Linked DNA regions of Homo sapiens: regions 2 and 3 are each linked to region 1. The links are contacts of gene promoters, found by promoter capture Hi-C in human tissues and cell types (Jung and others, 2019). All regions are on one chromosome and are shown on one strand. The core of a region is centred on a gene start or on the middle of the fragment in contact, and the rest is flanking DNA. Distances in the headings are between cores, read along the strand shown. Region 1 holds the start of NFATC2IP (nuclear factor of activated T cells 2 interacting protein). Region 2 holds the start of DCTPP1 (dCTP pyrophosphatase 1). Region 3 holds the start of TBC1D10B (TBC1 domain family member 10B).

Evidence for each region. The method cuts DNA at HindIII sites, captures the fragments that hold promoters and counts their contacts. A contact is called where the count stands out against the background at its distance.
Region 2: a contact is called between the fragment with the promoter of DCTPP1 here and the fragment with the promoter of NFATC2IP in region 1, in 1 of the 25 tissues and cell types used here (pancreas).
Region 3: a contact is called between the fragment with the promoter of TBC1D10B here and the fragment with the promoter of NFATC2IP in region 1, in 1 of the 25 tissues and cell types used here (dorsolateral prefrontal cortex).

The regions. Positions count from the first base shown.
Region 1 is chr16:28,949,307-28,952,876 of GRCh38, reverse strand. NFATC2IP (nuclear factor of activated T cells 2 interacting protein) reads right to left here and starts at 1,940. Exons shown (of 8, transcript NM_032815.4): 1 at 1,479-1,940; 2 at 673-745. The coding sequence starts at 1,865. RefSeq lists silencers at 1,485-1,604, 1,745-1,844 and enhancers at 1,564-2,064, 2,084-2,618. The HindIII fragment of the contact is 8,980 bases long and covers 1-3,570 here.
Region 2 is chr16:30,428,420-30,431,989 of GRCh38, reverse strand. It overlaps DCTPP1 (dCTP pyrophosphatase 1), which reads left to right and starts at 1,960. Exons shown (of 3, transcript NM_024096.2): 1 at 1,960-2,110; 2 at 2,823-2,933. The coding sequence starts at 2,010. RefSeq lists enhancers at 1,513-1,622, 2,023-2,102, 2,856-3,356, 3,357-3,570. The HindIII fragment of the contact is 14,232 bases long and covers 1-3,570 here.
Region 3 is chr16:30,368,804-30,372,373 of GRCh38, reverse strand. It overlaps TBC1D10B (TBC1 domain family member 10B), which reads left to right and starts at 1,880. Exons shown (of 9, transcript NM_015527.4): 1 at 1,880-3,146. The coding sequence starts at 2,191. It also overlaps a transcript of MYL11 not described here. RefSeq lists silencers at 1,995-2,284, 2,375-2,454. The HindIII fragment of the contact is 6,682 bases long and covers 1-3,570 here.

The sequences.
Region 1 (3,570 bases), core at 691-3,190:
CAGCTACTGGGAAGGCTGAGGCAGGAGAATCGCTTGAACCCAGGAGGTGGAGGTTGCAGCGAGCCGAGATCGTGCCATTGCACTCCAGCTTGGGCAACAAAAGCGAAACTCTGTCTAAAAAAAAAAAAAAAAAAGAGAGAACTGAGATTCAAACCCAGGCCAGATGGCTCCTGTTTGCTTTTAATCACCCCACTGTACTCCCTCATGGTACAAGAGTCTTGGTCCAAGGTCTCCATTTGCCCACTGGATTATTTCCTTATTAGACTAGATTCCTATTCCCCGCCCTTGAGTTGTTTGCAAAAAATGCATCAGTGGGGGAGGACAAAGACAGGGCATCCCTGATAAGATTCAGAGAACACCCTGCTGGCTCCAGTGTTCCCAAAGAACTTGCTGCAGATGTAACAAGATGTCACAGATTCTCAACACCTTACCGCCTCCTGCCCCGCCCAGGACTACAGAATCAGCATCTCTTCAGGTGGCACCAGAAATGTATACATTAATACATTCTATGCTTGTTAACAATCCAGCTCCTGTGGCTGGGATGCAGGAGTCCCCTCTCCCACGCTCTTCCCTTGAGCCTCAGGAGACAACTGACTGCAGGAATATAAACCCCAGGAATTCTCTTAAGAGAAGCCAGCGGCTGCGTGCCTCTCCCTGGAGGCCCTCCCTTACCTTCCTCATCCCCTGGAGGGTAGAGTTTCAGGAGGGATAGATCATCTGGGATAAGGCGAAGGCTGCTTTTAACCTGCAAAGACAAAGAAGGGAGAGGGGTCAGGCCCAAGTCCTTCCCCTACCGAAAGAAAAAATTGGGGGTAATTCTTCCCTGACACCCAGCTCCCAAATCCTCCCTAAGATCGTGGACACCTTGGCCCTCTCCTGGCAACCTAGAAGTCCAGCTTCCCCAGGATTCAGAATGGAAGTACCCTTCACCCTTTCCTCCATCTGCCTAAGACACTCTGAAATGTATGCTTCCTTGCCCTTTTTAACTAGGTTACTAGCCGCCCCTCTACCCCTGACTCTTAGGGACTCTCAGCCCATTGCTCACACGACCATCGGGGGACCCCAGCCTCTGGAGCCGCCCAGTCCTCTCTGAACCCGCATGGACCCCAACCCCCAATACTGCAGCTCCCTGGCTTCATTTGCCATGGACCCCAACCTCAAAATCCAACGGCCCCAGGTCCTCCCAGTCCCTCTCCAAAATCTCAGGAATCCCAGCTCTTCAGCCTCCCTGTGCCCCCAAGACTCTAGCTCCTAGGAATCCTAAACTTCCAACGCATCCCACCCTCCTTCACCACCCCAGTCTGCAGAAAGTCCCGGAGCCCTGCCTCTCCCTGCCTCCAACACCCTAACGCCCGAGGACCAGCCCCAGAACGCCAGCCTCAACACCCCTATAGCCCTACCCTCCCCGAACGCCGGCCCCTCCCTGGAGGCCAAGCCCTTGGCCCTTCCGCCGGTCCCCTCCCCGGGACCGGGCGCACCTTCCCCGAGTACACCGGAACCAGCGGCGCCTCCCCCGGATCCAGCACCAGCCGCCGCCGCCGCCTGACCGGCTCCCGCGGGGGTCCTGCGGGCCGCCTGTCCTCCCCTTCGCTGTCACTGTTGCTGTTATCCCGGGACGCGACCGGCCCCGGGGGCTCCGGGGGCTCCACCTCAACCTCGTCCGCGGCACCGCGAGCGGTGGCGACCTCCAGAATTTCCTCATCGCTGTCGGTGACCAAGTCCACAGACACTACGTCCAGCGTGCCCCGGGATGGAGACCGCTGGGCCCGAGGACGCCGGCCCCGACCGCCCCAGCCGCCCCGACCCCCTCGGCCGGCACCGCTACCTCCGGACCAGCGGCCCCGCTTCCCCACAGGCTCCGCCATGGCACACTTTCCTCCACAACACACGCCCGCCTCCTCTCGCCTCGCCCCGCCCCCTTCAGCGACTTTCGCCTTGCATTGGACAAACAGCCTGCTCGTCAGCAACTCTTCGCGCCCCACGCGCGGGATCCGCCTTCCCGCCTTTTCATTGGTCTCTGTACCCGCTCATCATGCGCCCACCTCTGAAACCAAGGCGCCAAAGATTCCAATCACCTCGGCACAATCACCGTAGCTTTCGATTCAGTCGGCCTCACCCATTGGCTGGGCCACCTCTCCACAGACGAGCCTCTCCCGGACCCGCCCAACCAAGACAACCGTCTTCCGGCTTGGTTAGTCGCAGGGCATCCTGGGAAATGTAGTCCTCGAGCGGTAAGGTTTCCGGGAGAAGGAAGGCGGGCCTGGAATTCCCTGTGGAAACCGCGGATTTAACCAGGCGCGGTGCCTCACGCCCGTAATCCTGGCACTTTGAAAGGCTGAGGCGGGCAGATTGGTTGAGCTCAGGAGTTTGAGACCAGCCTGGCCAATGTGGCGAAACCGCGTCTCTACTAAGAATGCAAAAATTACCCGGGCGTGGTGGCACCCCTCTGTGGTCCCAACTACTCAGGAGGCTGAGGTGGGAGTTTCGCTGGAGCCCGGGAGGCGGAGATCGCACCACTGCACCCCAGCCTGGGTGACAGGGCGAGACCCTGTCTCAAAAATGCTTTAAAGAAATAATAAGGCTGGCCGCGCGCGGTGGCTCACGCCTGTAATCCCAGCACTTTGGGAGGCCGAGGCAGGCGAATCACGAGGTCAGAAGTTCAAGACCAGCCTGGCCAACACGGTGAAACCCCGTCTCTACTAAAAATACAAAAATTAGGCGGGCGTGGTGGCGTGCGCCTGTAATCCCAGCTACTCAGGAGGCTGAGGCAGGAGAATTGCTTGAGCCCGGGAGGCAGAGGTTACAGTGAGCCAGATCCTGCCGCTGCACTCCAGCCTGGCCGACAGAGCGAGACTCTCTCTCAAAAAAAGAAAGAAAGATAGAAATAATAAGGCTGGGCGTGGTGGCTCACGCCTATAATCCAGCACTTTGGGAGGCCGAGGTGGGCAGATCACCTGAGGTCAGGAGTTCGAGACCAGCCTGACCAACATGGTAAAACCCTGTCTCTACTAAAATACAAAAATTAGACAGGCGTAGTGGCAGGCGCCTATAATCTCAGCTACTCGGGAGGCTGAGGCAGGAGAATCGCTGGAACCCAGGAGGCAGAGGTTGCACTGAGCCAAGATTGTACCACTGCACTCCAGCCTGGGCAACAGAGTGAGACTCCATCTCAAAAAAAAATCTTATGTATTTATTTATTTTTAAATTTTATTTTATTCATTTATTTAATTTTATTTATTTATTTATTTTGAGATGGAGTTTCGCTCTTATTGCCCAGGCTGGAGTGCAATGGCTCGATCTCGGTTCACTGCAACCTCTGCCTCCCAGATTCAAGCAATTCTCGTGCCTCAGTCTCCAAGTAGCTGGGATTGATTACAGGCGTGCACTACCATGCCCAGCTAATTTTGTATTTTTAGTGGAGATGGGGTCTCACCATGTTGGTCAGGCTGGTCTTGAACTCCTGACCTCAGGTGATCCACCCCCCTCCGCCCCCGCCTTGGCCTCCCAAAGTGCTGGGATTACAGGCGTGAGCCACTGCGCCCGACTATTTATTTTATTTTTTTCTTTTTC
Region 2 (3,570 bases), core at 711-3,210, 1.5 Mb before region 1:
CAGGCAATACATCATAGGGTCTAATAACAGACTGTGAAGCCAAACTGCCTGGATTTGACGCCAGCTCTACCACTTTACTAGCTGTTAAGTTATTTAACCTCTCAGTTTCCTTATCTTTTTTTTTTTTTTTTTTTTTTTTTTTTTGAGACGGAGTCTCGCTCTTTCGCCCAGGCTGAAGCACAGTGGCGCGATCTCGGCTCACTGCAAGCTCCACCTCCCAGGTTCACACCATTCTCCTGCCTCAGCCTCCTGAGTAGCTGGGACTACAGGTGCCCGCCACCACACCCAGCTAATTTTTTGTATTTTTAGTACAGACGGGGTTTCACCGTGTTAGCCAGGATGGTCTCGATCTCCTGACCTCGTGATCCGCCCGCCTCGGCCTCCCAAAGTGCTGGCATTACAGGCGTGAGCCACCGCGCCCGGCCTCAGTTTCCTTATCTTTAAAATGGGGATGACAACAATATTACCTACCATATAGGGTTTTTGTGAGGATTAAATTAGTTGCTATGAGGATTAAATATGTAAAATGCTTAAAACAGCCACCCCAGTTCCAGTTCATTCCTGAGGTCCCACTGTATTCTGGAGACACTCTTGTATCCTTACAATAAATTCCTTGTGGCCGGTGGGGGTGGCTCGTGCCTGTAATCCCAGCACTTCGGGAGGCCAAGGCAGGAGGATTGCTAGAGCCCAATCCAGCAATCCTGGTTCAAGACCAGCTTAGGCAACATGGTGAAACCCTGTCTCTATAAAAAATTTAAAAAATAAAAATAATAGATTTCTTTTTCTTGCTAAAAGCAGTTTAAACTTGTTTCTGTTGCATGTATCCAATCTTAACTGCTGGATAATATCATTTGTATAAATATACTTCCATGTAGCCATTCTTCCGTTGATAGTCATTTTATTTTCAATTTTTTTCACTCTTAGAAACAAAACTGTAATGAACTTCTTGCATGTGTCTCTCTGCACATATTCATTAATTTCTCTAGGGCATATACCTAGAATTGCAATTGTCACAGCCTTGGGATTTTAATTTCCAAAATCTGACTCTGCCTCTTCCTGCGCTTTCTTACGCTTTCACTTCCAGCAAGCTGGAAGCCTCTTTAAACGTGGAAATCAGAGATAGTAGCCCTAATAAGGGTACAATAATAAATCATTCTTTGCAAGACTACACCTGTTCTAGGGTTTCATAAAGATCTCTGCTCCTCCCATGGCCAATAACTCAGTGGTTCTGATTTGAAAGCAGCAACCCTGTGACTCGCCACCTCGCGTATTCCCTGGTGTGAGTGGAGCCTGGAGTTCTCGTGTGTGGGGTGGAGGAGCCGTGCTGGGGACCCATGAGGCTGGAGAGGCCGGCACAGGCCAGACCATAAGGGGCCACGTGTTTCAGGGCAATGTACGTTGCGCTGGGGCCTACTGCCTCCCTTAGGACAGGGATGGGGCGACCTCCATCGTTTCAACCACAGGACACAGCGATGGCGGGGAGCTGAAGTCCTACTGCCGTCTGATCTTACTCCGCTCTTCCCCTTCAATCCCATCCAAATAGTGTGGGGGTTGGCCTCGAGGTTTCTCAACGTCCTTAAGCCCTGATTTAATACCTATGCATAGGGCCTTTCATTTATAGGGTTTTCCACCTGACGGGCCCTCTTCCGCTGCCGTTTCGCTTTGGCGCCCTCTGGCGCCCATAAACGAAGTGACGCGCCTGCGCTTCCCCCACCCTCTGCCCTTCGTCTCTTCCCCAGGTCGAATTGGTACCTCTACCTTTAGACACAGGGCCTAGCGGAAGAATTCCAGGGCCTAAGACTAGAAACGCGCGCTTGAAGCTCCCTCAGATTGGTCCAGTGAGGGAAGGGGAGGGCTGTAGCAAACTCCACAAAAGTCATTGGTCTCTTTCCTCAGGCTCCGCCCCGTGAGGCAATAGAGAACTCCCGTAATTGGTCGGAGCTCTGGAGGCGGGGCTTCGAGCGTGGCTCGTGGGTTTTCCGTGAAGTCGCGGTGCAGCGGTGGGCGGCATGTCTGTGGCCGGTGGGGAGATTCGTGGGGACACGGGGGGAGAGGACACTGCTGCTCCCGGCCGGTTCAGCTTCAGCCCGGAGCCCACGCTCGAGGACATGTAAGCAGGCCTGGCCCAGCTCGGGGTGGGGAAGTCGCCCCTTTCTCCCGCGTTTTGGGGAGGGTTCCTCCACGTGGTCGGGAAGCGGGCTGGCAGCGGGGCTCGGGTCCTGGCTCTGTGGGCTGTCCCTGGGTGAGCCTTCTTACCTCATCTGCAAAATGGGCGCAGCGGTGCACACCTGAGGCAAGGGAAATTGGGTGGTGCCTCCGAGTGGTAACTAGGAACGCCCTTCAGCCTAGCCCTGGGAAGATACCGGCACCAGATACCGCCTCTGCTCTCCAGGCGCCGGGGGTACGAGAGGGGCAAACGAAGTGCTGAGAGGTGGGAGACGTTATTTTTTGCTGGAGGAGGTCAAGAAAGGCTTCTTAGAGGAAGGGTCTGTGGAACTACCTTCTGTAAGAGAAATTGCATTTTGATGTGCGGCGATTCCAGGTGGAGGAAACTGCAGAAGTAGCAGCAGGAGATGGAATAATGAAGAGGGTTTTGTTAGTTTTGGCGAGATGTTAAGGGCAGTTCAGGGGCACGCCCATTTTATAGATGAGGGAACCAAGTTCCGGAAAGAGGAAATGACCTGCACAATACCATCCAATGAATTAGTTGCAGAATCTCCTGGTCCCAGGCCCCATTACATACTACGGGGGTAGCTGCCTCTGGCCCCTGCATCACCCTCTAACCCGGAGACTTGGACTTACACTCCTTTGTCCTATTTCAGCCGCCGCCTCCATGCTGAGTTTGCTGCGGAACGAGACTGGGAACAGTTCCATCAGCCTCGGAATCTCCTCCTGGCCTTGGTTGGGGAAGTGGGGGAGCTGGCAGAACTCTTGTGAGTAGATGGAAAGCTTCCTGGTAGAGTCTGAGTTGTGGGGGAGGGGAGGGGAGCATTTATTTGGTCTTCAAACATTCATGGGTTCAGTTTCCCCTCCTGATTGCTAGGCTCTTTGCTGTTGTTGGGATGCAGAGAGGACTCACGGGTCCCTGCCCTCTAGGGGCACTCAGCCTCCTGGAAGAGAGAGGTGTGAGGTGTGAAAGCATCAGGACAGGTCCCGTCTAGGAAGAAGCAGTGGCAACAACCCTTTTCCCTTCTTTTGTTTTTTGTTTTTTTGGCTTTTTTTTGAGACGGGGTCTCGCTCTGTCGCCCAGGCTGGAGTGCAGTGGCTCAATTTCGGCTCACTGCAACATCCGCCTCCTGGGTTTAAGCAGTTCTGTCTCAGCCCCCCGAGTAGCTGGGACTACAGGTGCCCCCCACCACGCCTGGCTAATTTTTGTATTTTTAGTGGAGACGGGGTTTCACCATATTGGTCAGGCTAGTCTCAAATTCCTGACCTCAGGTGATCCACCCGCCTTGGCCTCCCAAAGTGCTGGGATTACAGGGGTGAGCCACCACGCCTGGCCCAACAACCCTTTTCCTCTGCCTCTGGGGCTGAAAGGAAGGTATTCTGTAGAGGACCTGCCTGTGGCAT
Region 3 (3,570 bases), core at 631-3,130, 1.4 Mb before region 1:
CCCATGCCGATACCTCTAAGACATTTTCTTTTCTGGGCACTGAGGCCCCAGCCACCTGTTGTCTCTAAGAAGAGAGAAGGAGCCACCCTAAACTTAGCAGCTGCCCTTAGCCTCCCACACCAGCCCCTCCCTGCCTCAGACAGCAGCTGCCTCGCCTTATAGGGTTACCACGGGGGTCCAGGCCAGGGAGGAGCCCACTTATTACTGGGTTCTGGGAGAGGAGGAGGACTCCAAAAAGGGGAATGGGAGGAGAGCTCAGGAAGCTTGGGTCAAACGGGAGATGGGAAAGGTGAGGAGAAGGAGATCAGACACTGAGTGGGAATTGACAGGACATGGGGCTGAGTTGGGAGTGAGGGACCTTAGAGGACTCAGAAACCAAGGAGGAGCTGAGAAGTCGGGAGCTAGGTCTCACTGGAATTCCAGGATGGTGGATGCTATATGGAAATCAGAATATGGGGGTCAGAGAAAGAAGAGGGCGTTTAGAAGTTGGAAGGTTGGAGCTCATAACGTCAGGTCTTTATGCTTGTGATCTAAGGACAACCTGGAGCGCTCATGAGATTGAGGTCGGGATTCTCAGTGGAACATGAGGAGCACAGAGGGATGTGGCAGTGAGGGGAGAGGGGTTGACGGGACTGGGGCCTTGGATCCCCAAAAGAATAGTAACACACATATGGGGAGTTCATGGTATTAGGGATTCATGGATTTGGGGTTTGAGATCCCCACTAGAAGAAATGGAGGGGGTACTCAGAGGGATAAGGTCTGAGGAACTGGAGCCTGGGTTCTGGGGAGGAGCTCAGATAGATGGGAACTGAGGAGAGGGACTTGGAGGTTGGGATTCCCGCAGGAAATGGGTGAAGCAGAGATATGGGTTGCTTATAGGATCTGGGGGCTCTGGCTATTGCCACCTGGGCCTGGAGTGTTGGGGTTAGTTGGGGGCCGAGATCGGAGAATTATAGAGTAAAGGATGAGAGTACTGGGTCAGGGCACTGGATCTGTGGTGGGGCTCAGGGTCCCACAGACCACCAGAGTGTGGGGCTCAGGAGCTGAACGAAGAATAGGGGACCGGAAAGGACTCGAGAGGGGGCAGCGCGGCACTCATTGGTTGAGGGCTGCACTAATGCCCCCGCCCCTTCTCCGTGCTGTCCCCAGCTGTCACCCTCCCATAAGGCTTGTCTCCGGTTGTCACCGACTATCCCTGGGCTGGCACCGCCTGCTGGCAGCATCTTTGCCCTTTGGATGCTCCCATTGGCTGAGACAGCTATCTATTTTCCTGTCCTGTGGCCAAAGTGGGAGAACACGATCATTGGCTGACGGGGCGAATTAATCTCTAGCTTGCCCCGCCTCCTCCCAGCTGTCATTCCTTACTGACCATTTTGGGAGACCTAAAGAATTCTTCAGCTCTTCCTATTGACTGCGGATGCTGTCTGTCACCGCCTAAATAGACATCACTGCCTGTCAATTTGACCTCCACCTGCTCCCCTTTTCATTGGCTCCCTTTTTACCATTCCTATTGGTTAAGAAGCCTCCAGGCCCCACCTCTTACTCGCACAGCCCTGCCTCCTCCTCCGCCCTTCCGCGGTCATTCACCCTTCAGTCATATTCATTGGCCAGGAGGTTCAGACCCCTGCGTTTCTATTGGTTATTTCTTTCGTCCCATCGCCCCCTGCCTTTCCTCGTCCTCTGATTGGTCTTACAGCCCTAGCTTTCTCCGTTTCCTCTTTCCAGATGACCCACCCCTTTTTCGCCTCCAGCCCCGCCCACGATTCCAACGATTGGCAGAAGCCCAGTTCTCTCTCTCCCACTATTCGTCCAAATCCTCTGACTAGGCGGGAGAAAAAAGGAGCGCGATGAGCCAGTCCGCGCGCAGGCGTGGAACGCCGAGACGCTGGCGCGGAGCCGGCTCTGCGGCGTGTGCGCAGGCGCGAGGTCGGCGGCTCGCCCCCAAGCAGGAGGGAGGGGGCGGTGGCGAGAGCGCGCGAGGGGGTGAGAGGGCTCGAGAGAGACCCCGGCGCGCGGCGCCCCCCGACCCCTGCCCCGCCTCTGCGCGCCCAGCGGCCGCTCCGCCCCCGGCGCGCGCCGAGCCGCGCCCTTCGCCCTCTCCCCTTTCTCGGCTGGCCTCGCCGGGAGGCCCGAGGGGCGGCGCCTTCTGCGGCCTCCCCGGCGGGGGGATGTGAGGGGCGGCCCGCGGCCATGGAGACGGGCACGGCGCCCCTGGTGGCCCCGCCGCGCCGTCATGGCGCCCCCGCGGCCCCCTCGCCGCCGCCCCGGGGTTCCCGGGCCGGGCCCGTCGTGGTGGTGGCTCCGGGACCTCCAGTGACTACGGCCACTTCGGCCCCCGTCACCCTGGTGGCCCCCGGGGAGGCGCGGCCCGCCTGGGTCCCGGGGTCGGCCGAGACCTCTGCTCCGGCCCCGGCCCCAGCCCCGGCCCCAGCCCCGGCTGTCACGGGCAGCACGGTGGTGGTGCTGACCCTGGAGGCCTCGCCCGAAGCCCCAAAGCCGCAGCTCCCCTCCGGCCCGGAATCCCCAGAGCCCGCGGCAGTGGCTGGAGTTGAGACATCGAGGGCTCTGGCCGCAGGGGCAGACTCGCCGAAGACAGAGGAGGCTCGACCCTCACCCGCCCCAGGACCAGGGACCCCCACCGGGACCCCTACCAGGACCCCTTCCAGAACGGCTCCTGGTGCCCTGACCGCCAAACCCCCGCTTGCCCCCAAGCCGGGAACCACAGTGGCCTCAGGAGTGACTGCACGGAGTGCATCAGGACAAGTGACAGGTGGGCATGGAGCTGCCGCAGCAACATCAGCATCAGCAGGACAGGCTCCTGAGGACCCCTCAGGCCCTGGCACAGGCCCCTCTGGGACTTGTGAGGCTCCGGTAGCTGTCGTGACCGTGACCCCAGCTCCGGAGCCTGCTGAAAACTCTCAAGACCTGGGCTCCACGTCCAGCCTGGGACCTGGCATCTCTGGGCCTCGAGGGCAGGCCCCGGACACGCTGAGTTACTTGGACTCCGTGAGCCTCATGTCTGGGACCTTGGAGTCCTTGGCGGATGATGTGAGCTCCATGGGCTCAGATTCAGAGATAAACGGGCTGGCCCTGCGCAAGACGGACAAGTATGGCTTCCTTGGGGGCAGCCAGTACTCGGGCAGCCTGTGAGTACCAGTGGGCACCCAGCGGGACCGCCTCGGGGAAGCAAAGGTTGGGGGAGGGCGAAACGAAAACGATACACTTTGCCCAGACTCTGGCAGCCCAGCCTCCTCTGAGGATCCACGGGGTGATCAGCGCGAGCTGCCGTGTCTTGAGCATCCTGAGGTGCCTGTGACATTGGCATGTTAGTGGAGTTTCAGACCAGGGGTCAAGAGGTCTGGGTTTAAGCCTTGCCTTTGATGGGTTGTGTGCCCTTGAGCTAGTGGCTTCCCCATTTCCGTGCCTCAGTTTTTTCCTCTATAAAGTGGATTGAATGAGATGATACCTGAGGTCATCCCTGCTCTTTGATGGGGAACTCCAGCTACAGGCCGGATATTCTGGAGGGTTGGTTGGGCGAGGGTTCTGGTAGAGACCCTTGGTCCCTTAGGG